2 separate regions of the Homo sapiens genome follow, and region 2 is linked to region 1. The links are contacts of gene promoters, found by promoter capture Hi-C in blood cells and fetal thymus (Javierre and others, 2016). All regions are on one chromosome and are shown on one strand. Each heading gives the region's core, a stretch centred on a gene start or on the middle of the fragment in contact. The rest is flanking DNA. Distances are from core to core; before and after follow the strand shown.

Evidence for each region. Contacts are between HindIII fragments. The CHiCAGO score rates a contact against its expected background, and 5 or more counts as called.
Region 2: a contact is called between a fragment that was not itself captured here and the fragment with the promoter of LRRTM3 in region 1, in 1 of 17 cell types (M2 macrophages). The highest score is 7.6, in M2 macrophages.

Annotation. Positions count from the first base shown.
Region 1 is chr10:66,923,199-66,928,579 of GRCh38, forward strand. It overlaps LRRTM3 (leucine rich repeat transmembrane neuronal 3), which reads left to right and starts at 2,838. Exons shown (of 3, transcript NM_178011.5): 1 at 2,838-3,389; 2 at 3,723-5,254. The coding sequence starts at 3,386. All of the region lies in intron 7 of CTNNA3 (catenin alpha 3), which reads right to left. The region is part of intron 3 of LOC101928961 (a long non-coding RNA gene); the gene reads right to left. RefSeq lists an enhancer at 2,225-3,081 and a silencer at 2,701-2,810. The HindIII fragment of the contact is 12,033 bases long and covers 1-4,515 here.
Region 2 is chr10:63,883,995-63,889,184 of GRCh38, forward strand. LOC101928859 (a long non-coding RNA gene) reads right to left here and starts at 3,100. Exons shown (of 4, transcript XR_246119.4): 1 at 2,960-3,100. The region is part of intron 1 of LOC124902439 (a long non-coding RNA gene); the gene reads left to right. The HindIII fragment of the contact is 8,813 bases long and covers 1-5,190 here.

The sequences.
Region 1 (5,381 bases), core at 1,588-4,087:
AGAGCAATGTGTGTAACACAGCAGAGAATAATATTCACCGTAAATAATTCAAGAAGATTTATCCCAGGAAAAGCAAAGTGAGAGCCCACATTCTCAGTGGGTTCCTCTGTTCTTCTGTCAATGGGAAGTAAAGTATGATGAGCAAGAAGCACAAAGTTAATGGGTCCTCCAGCCTCCTGGAGTGGCTCTCTGCAGCTCTTGGGCAAAACAGATGTCTCAATGACTACGTGGGAGAGTGAGGGGAAAACTCAGAGCCTTTCAAGCAACAGAGGTGTGAGAGAGAAGTTATCAATATAATTCTCATTAGTCTGTTTTTGAGAGATACAAGTTGTCAAGCCCATTTGGGATATTAAATGATAAGGGTTCAGTATTACCCTTCTGTGCTGTGCAAAGGAGAATAGTCAAAAGCATATTTACTGTTCTCATGAAATTTGTAGTTTAACTATGAAGACAAGATATCTGTGAAAAGTAAAGATCACTTTCTGATCAACTAAGTTTTCTCACTTTCTAGTTTTTGTCTTTGTATATACCTCCTTTAAGAATACTTTCTCCAAAATTGTTTCCAGTCTCACTGACTGAGGAAATTTTCAGGACTCAATCCCATGTACAAATGTTGAACATTACATAATCAGTTATACTATATCCATTGTACTTGTGACTGATATAAAAACATATTTTTTTCAATAGCTATTTATTGCATGTCTGCAATGTGCCAAGTGCTGTTGTAGATATTAGGAAAAATGAAGTAGACAAAACATTGTCTTTGTCCTTGTGGAACTTACATCTCAGTATTATAAGTGTGCAAACCCTCTCTTCCTACTAGGAGAAAATATTATTTTTAATCATTCCTTCACAGTGAGTTTCTTAAACTTATTTCATCAGAGACTATTGAAAAGCACACACTCTTCCATCCCCCTAGAATGAGAATCCTGGGGGAGGGATTGGGCAGTCTATCTTTTTAAGAAACTCACTGGATGTTTCATGTGCATTCACAGCTTAGGTAACTCTGGGGGAAAGCACTGCCCTATTAAGAACATACTGCCCAAGGAATTGGTAATATCCATTGTACTATATCTGTAGGACCCCTTTTGATTGTCATTACTAGCCTTTATCAAACATCTCATCCTTGGAGAATGTGAAAGCTCTCCACGGTTTTCCACAGACAGTTCACCTAACAAAAAACAACAAGGCAAACTTTTTCAAGAATACCATTATTTTTAAATAAAATGCCTCTACATGGCAGATGTTATTATGTTCTACTTTGGAGATGAAAAGAATCGAACATTATTAGTCATGATCCACAGAACCAGAAGATTTATTTTAAAGATAAAGTTCAGATGATGAACATAAAGGAAGTTATCTCATCAAAGAAGGCAAGACTGAGTAAATCTCAGAAATCCACCATGTACAATATTTAAAAATGCTCACTAAAGTTGTTCTTTGTGAGTTAATGAAGGTCAGTATAGTCAATATTCAGTACGTAATCCTAGCAAGTACAAATAAAGTTAATATTATTCAAATATCTTACACAGGCTTATTGCATGCAACACACTGTTCTAAGTAACATACAGATATTAAAATGACTTAATTCTCAAAACATGAAGTGAGTTTTTGTTTTTATGCCCGTTTTGCAGATGAGAAAACTGAGGCATAGGGAAGGTAAGTAACGCGCTTAAGGTTACATAGCTGGTAAATTGTAGCCAGGAGTTGGAATCTAGGTGCCAAAATCTATGCTGTTAATCACTAAACTACGCTGCCTTAGTTTTTATACTTCTTTAGGAACCTCAGACCAAAAGAAATTTAGGCAATTCTAATAGAACAAGCAAGAATTTGCTAATCACAGCTTCCTTGCCCCAATCCTTTAATCGGCTTCATTTTCACTGACTTCTTTTTTAAATGAAGATAACAATGTTGTTGAACAGGATCATCTAGTGGTTAGTGGTTCGGCATAAGAATGACTCGCTTCTGAAGCTCAGCTCTAGCACTCGCTTGCTGTATGACCTTGAGAAAGTTACCTCCCCAAGTCTGTTTCCTCATCTTTAAAAGAGAGGTTATAATAGGACCCACATCATACTATTGTTTAAAGAGAAAACAACGTAGCCCATTTAAAGCACTTAGAAAGTGCTCCATAAATATTATTAGTGTAATAAATAGCAGCAACATCAATAAAGTATGAACCAAATGATCTCTTGATTCGTATCCTAACACTAAAAATGGTTTATTTCCCTTCTAATTAAAAGAGAATTACAACAACCAAAACAACAAACGAAACTATAGCCATAAAATCAATTATATCGTCTGTGAGAAAACCGGAAAGGCTATTGGACACATTAATTCACTTGTCATCAGTCATCCCCTCTATTCCAAAATGTTTGTGTTCTAACATCCTGAGACACCTTGCATAATATAATCACTGTGACTCCAAGAGGTCAAATGGGCAGGCAGTTAATGCTTCTCTGTGAAAAGCTCAATAATTCATTTTATAAATTTCAGTTTAAAGCCTGCGTTGAGGTTAAGAAAAATTGACGTTCGGTCTGTGAACTTAATGTCAAGCTCCAGAAAAACTCTGGGCAGCACATGTTTAGCAATTAAGTGGACACAGACAATAAAGACGTTGCCAAATTGTAAAACAAGACTTGGAAATCACAGAAAATGTTGCTAGTTATTGATCACGGTGACCATTCAGTTCCTACTGAGCCACCCAAAAGAATCATTCATTTTCCAGCAGAGAGCCTGCTCATTTGCAAGATAAAAGAGAGACATTTCTGCACATGCCCATAATGTTCTTCACCACTGGGGGCAGCTTTACATAAGACTGCATTCACTGAAACCAAAGCAACAGTCCGAGCAGCTTTCAGAATGACAGTCTGCAGAAGTGAGCTGAGCGTGTGCGCGGTACGGGGCTCTCCTGCCTTCTGGGCTCCAACGCAGCTCTGTGGCTGAACTGGGTGCTCATCACGGGAACTGCTGGGGTATGGAATACAGATGTGGCAGCTCAGGTAGCCCCAAATTGCCTGGAAGAATACATCATGTTTTTCGATAAGAAGAAATTGTAGGATCCAGTTTTTTTTTTAACCGCCCCCTCCCCACCCCCCAAAAAACTGTAAAGATGCAAAAACGTAATATCCATGAAGATCCTATTACCTAGGAAGATTTTGATGTTTTGCTGCGAATGCGGTGTTGGGATTTATTTGTTCTTGGAGTGTTCTGCGTGGCTGGCAAAGAATAATGTTCCAAAATCGGTCCATCTCCCAAGGGGTCCAATTTTTCTTCCTGGGTGTCAGCGAGCCCTGACTCACTACAGTGCAGCTGACAGGGGCTGTCATGCAACTGGCCCCTAAGCCAAAGCAAAAGACCTAAGGACGACCTTTGAACAATACAAAGGATGGGTATGTTTTGTCATTTTTCTTCTTTCCTTCTTAAAAACAAAAAACAAAAAACCTCTAGTGTGTGTAATAATTCTGCCTTAATTATTTTAGAGATTACCTTGCTCTGCTCTAAGACTATGAATTTATTTGCTTAGTGGCATGTTTCCTTGTTTAACTATTTAAAAAAACAAAACACTAAAGACAATTCTCTTTAATTACAAAGAGATAATATGTGATGTTAAGTGTTATTTAGATTTAAATTTTTAAAAATGAAAAATATATGCCTATTTTTGCTTGATTAAGGATTAATTCTTTTTTGGGGGGATAACTTTTCTAAGTTGTTTTTATTTCCAGGTTTCAATGTAATTAGGCTACTGAGCGGATCAGCTGTAGCACTGGTTATAGCCCCCACTGTCTTACTGACAATGCTTTCTTCTGCCGAACGAGGATGCCCTAAGGGCTGTAGGTGTGAAGGCAAAATGGTATATTGTGAATCTCAGAAATTACAGGAGATACCCTCAAGTATATCTGCTGGTTGCTTAGGTTTGTCCCTTCGCTATAACAGCCTTCAAAAACTTAAGTATAATCAATTTAAAGGGCTCAACCAGCTCACCTGGCTATACCTTGACCATAACCATATCAGCAATATTGACGAAAATGCTTTTAATGGAATACGCAGACTCAAAGAGCTGATTCTTAGTTCCAATAGAATCTCCTATTTTCTTAACAATACCTTCAGACCTGTGACAAATTTACGGAACTTGGATCTGTCCTATAATCAGCTGCATTCTCTGGGATCTGAACAGTTTCGGGGCTTGCGGAAGCTGCTGAGTTTACATTTACGGTCTAACTCCCTGAGAACCATCCCTGTGCGAATATTCCAAGACTGCCGCAACCTGGAACTTTTGGACCTGGGATATAACCGGATCCGAAGTTTAGCCAGGAATGTCTTTGCTGGCATGATCAGACTCAAAGAACTTCACCTGGAGCACAATCAATTTTCCAAGCTCAACCTGGCCCTTTTTCCAAGGTTGGTCAGCCTTCAGAACCTTTACTTGCAGTGGAATAAAATCAGTGTCATAGGACAGACCATGTCCTGGACCTGGAGCTCCTTACAAAGGCTTGATTTATCAGGCAATGAGATCGAAGCTTTCAGTGGACCCAGTGTTTTCCAGTGTGTCCCGAATCTGCAGCGCCTCAACCTGGATTCCAACAAGCTCACATTTATTGGTCAAGAGATTTTGGATTCTTGGATATCCCTCAATGACATCAGTCTTGCTGGGAATATATGGGAATGCAGCAGAAATATTTGCTCCCTTGTAAACTGGCTGAAAAGTTTTAAAGGTCTAAGGGAGAATACAATTATCTGTGCCAGTCCCAAAGAGCTGCAAGGAGTAAATGTGATCGATGCAGTGAAGAACTACAGCATCTGTGGCAAAAGTACTACAGAGAGGTTTGATCTGGCCAGGGCTCTCCCAAAGCCGACGTTTAAGCCCAAGCTCCCCAGGCCGAAGCATGAGAGCAAACCCCCTTTGCCCCCGACGGTGGGAGCCACAGAGCCCGGCCCAGAGACCGATGCTGACGCCGAGCACATCTCTTTCCATAAAATCATCGCGGGCAGCGTGGCGCTTTTCCTGTCCGTGCTCGTCATCCTGCTGGTTATCTACGTGTCATGGAAGCGGTACCCTGCGAGCATGAAGCAGCTGCAGCAGCGCTCCCTCATGCGAAGGCACAGGAAAAAGAAAAGACAGTCCCTAAAGCAAATGACTCCCAGCACCCAGGAATTTTATGTAGATTATAAACCCACCAACACGGAGACCAGCGAGATGCTGCTGAATGGGACGGGACCCTGCACCTATAACAAATCGGGCTCCAGGGAGTGTGAGGTATGAACCATTGTGATAAAAAGAGCTCTTAAAAGCTGGGAAATAAGTGGTGCTTTATTGAACTCTGGTGACTATCAAGGGAACGCGATGCCCCCCCTCCCCTTCCCTCTCCCTCTCACTTTGCTGG
Region 2 (5,190 bases), core at 2,681-5,180, 3.0 Mb before region 1:
GGTTTTCAAAGGAATTATTTTCCTGGCTTGAGTTCTTTCAGAAATCCATTAATTTATAAATCAATAGAAATATATCCAGCACCTGCTTTGTGCTAAGTGCCCTGGGGAATATATCTGCCTGCAAGGAACTTAATGTATAGTTGCAGGGGGCAAAGCAAACAAATGCAGAACAACAGCAGTACCAAAGAGATGCTATTCATATTTAAAAAATACATAGTAAAAATTCTAAAGTACTGAAGGTAGAAAGTAAGTTCCTCTCCCACCCCTACCCTTCTTGCCCTGGTTCTCTTTCCCTCTAATCAGTTTCTTAGTGCTCTCTGAGAGATTCTTTCTATATAAAGGCATATACGTACATATAGCACCTTTCCTTTTGCCAAAATACCAAACGAGACATACTATAATACTCTCCTGTGCTTTGCTTTTTAAAATTCATAAAATATCTCAGATATTGTGCTGTATCAGTACATATTGATCTCCCTCATTCTAATGGAATTCTTTTGTATGAATATAGCACGCTTTATTTAATAGCCCCTTTATCAATGGTCTTTTAGGTTGTTTCTAGGCTTTTGCTACCTGAACAATGCTGCAATAAATTCTCCTGACAAAGAGCTATAATTAAGGGCTAAATTGTGTGGCTCAGACTGTAAGTGATTCTGATTTCACAGTATGGGTGCTAATGGCATTTTGGGTGAGACAGTTTTGGTTGTGCAGAACTGTCTTGCCCACTGCATGATTTTTAGGTTCCCTGCCAAAGTTCCAGCATGCTCTCATTGTGACAACCAAAAAAGCCAGTCCCGGTCCCCCCAGCTCCCATCTCCAAGTGTTCTCTAGGGGGATGATATTACCAAGATTGGGAATTGCTGCAAGCATAGTGAGTTAGAGTTGGAAGCCGTCTGGGGAAAAGGGCAGTCTGAGCGTGCTATGATTTCAGTGTTTGTGTCCCCTTCAAAATTCATGTTGAAACACAACCCCAGTGCAACAATATTAAGAGGTGAGGCCTTTAGGTGGTGATTAGGTCACGAGGGCTTCACCCTCAAGGATAGGATTAGCACTTCTAAAAGGACATGAGGAAATGAATTCGCCTCCTTTTGCCCCTCTGTCCCTTCCATCATGTGAGAACACAGCAACATATTGGAAGCAAAGAGCAGCCCTCACCAAACACTGAGCCTGCCAGTGCATTGATTTTGGACCTTCTAGTGTTCAGAATATGAGAAATAAATTTCTATTGTTTACAAATTACTCAGCTTATGGTATTTTGTTATAGTAGCACAAAAGCCCTAAGACAGAGCAGGACTTGAGGATTTGTACAGGCTTGGGGACACAGCCTGCTAAGGATGAGAGTTAGTCATCTTATTGGGGGATTTCCCTTGTCTTGGTGCCTACTTTTTTACTCCCAGAGAGATGACATAGTGTTTGTGAAGCCAATTGGCCTGGCAAGTAGTCCTTAGGTTTTAATGTGGGTCCTAGAAAGAGCTGGGACCTTGCTTCAGCTTCTTTGCCCAGCCTGCCATGTTGGCCCTGGGTTTGCCTTTGGTCACAGGTGTGGAGGTGCTGGCCTGGTGACTCTGTTCACTAGTAGAATGAAGAAGGCCATTAACACTGGATGGACCACTGATAGGCCTTGGGACAAATTATGCAATGCTTGAATTTTCACTCTACCGTTTCTGTGCCAGTGAATCATAAATTCCTAGAAAGTTAAAGCTGAAGGGAAATTTTTAGATCATCTAGCCCCTCTCAATTAGAAGAGAGGGAGTCAGGATAATGTGCTTTAGAAGGTAAAATGTCATAAAAGAGCCTGCAAGTAAGGGGTACTATGGACTAGGGGATAAGAGTAGAGATGACTGAGTATGATGGACTTCATGCCAAGGGAAAAATGATCTAAATCAGTGGCTTACAAACTGGATTTTATATCAGTATTGGAAAAGTAATATAAGGAAGAAATGCAGATTTCTAGGCCCCACCCCAGCCAGAACAAATTAGAATTCTAGGACTAGGATCTGGGAATCTGTATTTTTTTTTTTTTAATTGAGACGGAGTCTCGTTCTTTCGTCCAGGCTGGACTGCAGTGGCGCTATCTCGGCTCACTGCAAGCTCCGCCTCCCAGGTTCACGCAATTCTCCTGCCTCAGCCTCCTGAGTAGCTGGAACTACAGGCGCCCGCCACCGTGCCCGGCTAATTTTTTTTTTTTTTTGTATTTTTAACAGATATGCGTTTTCACCATGTTAGCCAGGATGGTCTTGATCTCCTGACCTCGTGATTTGCCCGCCTCGACCTCCCAAAGTGCTCGGGAATCTGTATTTTTACTATGATCCTCAGGTGATCTTTGTGCCTAGTAGTGGCCTGACAATGAATCTTAGGAAACTCTGATTTAAATAGACTCAATCAAATAATTTCCATATCACAAATATGAGTGTCAGAGGAGCCTGGGCTGCTCCTTTGCTGGATATCTGTACTCTGGGCAAAGGGAGAGAGCAGATAATATGCCGGGTGGTTAATTATGTTGGCATTTATTCATTCTGAAATGTTTACAAATGTAATTAGAAGCCAGATTAGGTATGATGCTCACTGACCTTTAAGGAGAGCTTGGCATCAAACAACCAAAAAAAAAAAAAAAAAAAAGAAAAAAAGAGGAAATGCCTATATCAAAGGTTAATCAGAGCAAAACACAGCATGATTAGCTGGGAATCTCTAGCTTGCAAAAAGAAGGATTTTATTTGGTATTAAGAATTAAGAATTAGGAAATGGAAGATCATTTCTTCTGAGTCATTGTTTTTCTGGGTTTGGAATGACTCTTCCCAGACCTGAGCCTTTCCCGGCTGGCCTAACAATTTTCTGCCTGACATTGTTGGGAAGATATTTTCAATGGTAAATTTAGAGCTCTTGCTCCATGTGGTTACATAATCAAACTGGATCACTGACTATTCTTACCTCATCTTCCAGAGACTGTATGGAACCCTACCTTCCTTCAGATGATGGCAAATCCTCCCGGGTCCTATAGAACGGTTCTCTCTCTTGCCTTTAGGTTCTTCTCCCCAGCTAGGGTTCACAGGGTTACTTTCCTGACAATCAGGTGAAGCTGACTATGTGACCTCAGGTAAGTCTCCCAACTCTACCTCACCTTTGCCCTTCCGATCCATTTTCTACCCTGCTCTGCACCCTGGCAGGCTGCCTGCTGTAGACTATATCATTGGGGCTTCTTTGCTAGCTGACTTCCTGCTGGCAGAGGAAGCAGGATTAACCAGCAGGAAGTCCCTGACAGGGGGTGCTAAGGTCTGGCCTAGTCTTTCCTTGCCAGGTCCCTAGGTTGTTCCCATGGCTACAACTCCCACTGCGCAGCCGCACTGCTGCGGCTGGGGGCCCTCGCTGGGCTCCCGTGGCGCTATTGCCTCCCTTTGCACCTTCCGGTCTGCGTGTTGTGATGGCTCCCTCTGATGGCAGTCGCTGGATGCTTCATCCACGTGTAGTGGTTTTCTTTCCTCTGCACACCTCTCAGTACATACTCCAGCTGGGACAATCTTTTCAGATGAACACCCTGTTTTTATCCCAGTCTGATAAATTTTTCTTGAAAAGAGGTCAAACAGGAAAGCAAACCTTCCTCTGCCTGTCTCAGTGCAATCATGAAGATCACGCAAGATAGTCCCTGTTGGAGTGTGTGTGCTTCAGCAGTGCAGAGCATTCAAAGGTAGGGTGGCATAATAGTTACTGCTCTGGTGATTATTATTAAGGTCTGAGACATCTTTATAACCTTAAAGCATTTTGGACAGCTTTCAATATTTGGTATTTGCACAGTAAATACTAGTTGATTAATTCAGGGAGCCGGAAGTAGGGAGTACTGACAAGTACATCTACCTACTTTCAAGTGTACAGACTCTGTTTCTGGAAGTTACAAGAGAGTCTGGTTTTATTTTCTTTGTTATTAATGAAAATTCCTCCCAGATTCTGGGAACAGGTTGATATACAACCCTAGTTTTCAGTTACATCAGTTTTCATTTATGTCTGGGTTCCACAAGTATTTTGTGGAGTTGGTGGAAGTTATGTTAGGGTTTACTGGCAAGATTTCAATTTAACCTGGGAAACCTTGAATACATAAGTTTTTAAATCGCTGCACATATAAGTCATAGTTTATTTAACCATTGCCTCATTGTTAGAGAATTAGATTATTTCCAGTTTTGCTCTGATAAAGCAATAGAGTGATCATCTTTGCACTCACAGTAGTCCGCACATCATTCAGCAGCGCCATCACTGCTTAGGTCAGAGGCTGGTGGACACAGCAGTAAACAAGGCAAAGCTGTGCTCTTGTGAGTTTATATTCTAGATGGAGAGACAGATAATAAACAAACACAATGAATACATGGGGTAAAGCAGGGTAGGGGTGGTAGGGAAGAGAGGCAATGGGAGTTGCTATCTCAAAAAGGGTAATCACAGAAGCCCTTCTGATATGGAAACATTTGGGTAGAGATCTGAATGACATGAGGAAGCAAGCCAAATATCTGGGGGAAAGGCATTCTTGGCAGAGGGAACAGCCTTTGCAAAGGCCTGGAGACAGGAATGTGCTTAACATGTTTGAGGAACAGCAAGGAGGTCAACGGAACTGGAGTGGAATGAGTAAGGGGGATAGCAGTAAGAAGTGAATTAGAGGGACAAGTGGGGGCAAAATCTTCAAGGATCTTATAGGCCAATATAAAGACTCTGACTGGTCCTTATAGTGATAGAAGACCTTGGTGGGTTTGAAGTAGGAGAGTGACATGAGGAGACTTTCATTTTAAAAGGCTCTCTTTGGCTGCTATATGAAAATGTTCTGGTGCGGGCTAGGGTAGAGTGAGGGTGGCCAGGTGGGAGGCTTTGGGGATAATTCAGGGAGAGATGAGGGTAGCTTGGACCAGAGTTGTCAAAATGAATGTCATGAGAAATGATTGGATTCTGGGTATATTTCAAAGGCAGAGGTGGCTGATTTTAATTATGGATTGGATGCAGGATATGAATGATGAGAGTTGAGGATGACTTGGGTTTTGCCCTGCATAATGCCTGTTGAGGGATAAATAAACAAATGTTTAGTCAGGGCAGTGGTTCTTAAGTTGAGGCGACTTTGCTGTCTAGGGGACATTTGGCAATGTATAGAGATAGTTATGTTTTTTACCCTGGGGTGGGAGATGTGAGCTACAGACTTCTAGTGGGCAGAGGCCACAGACG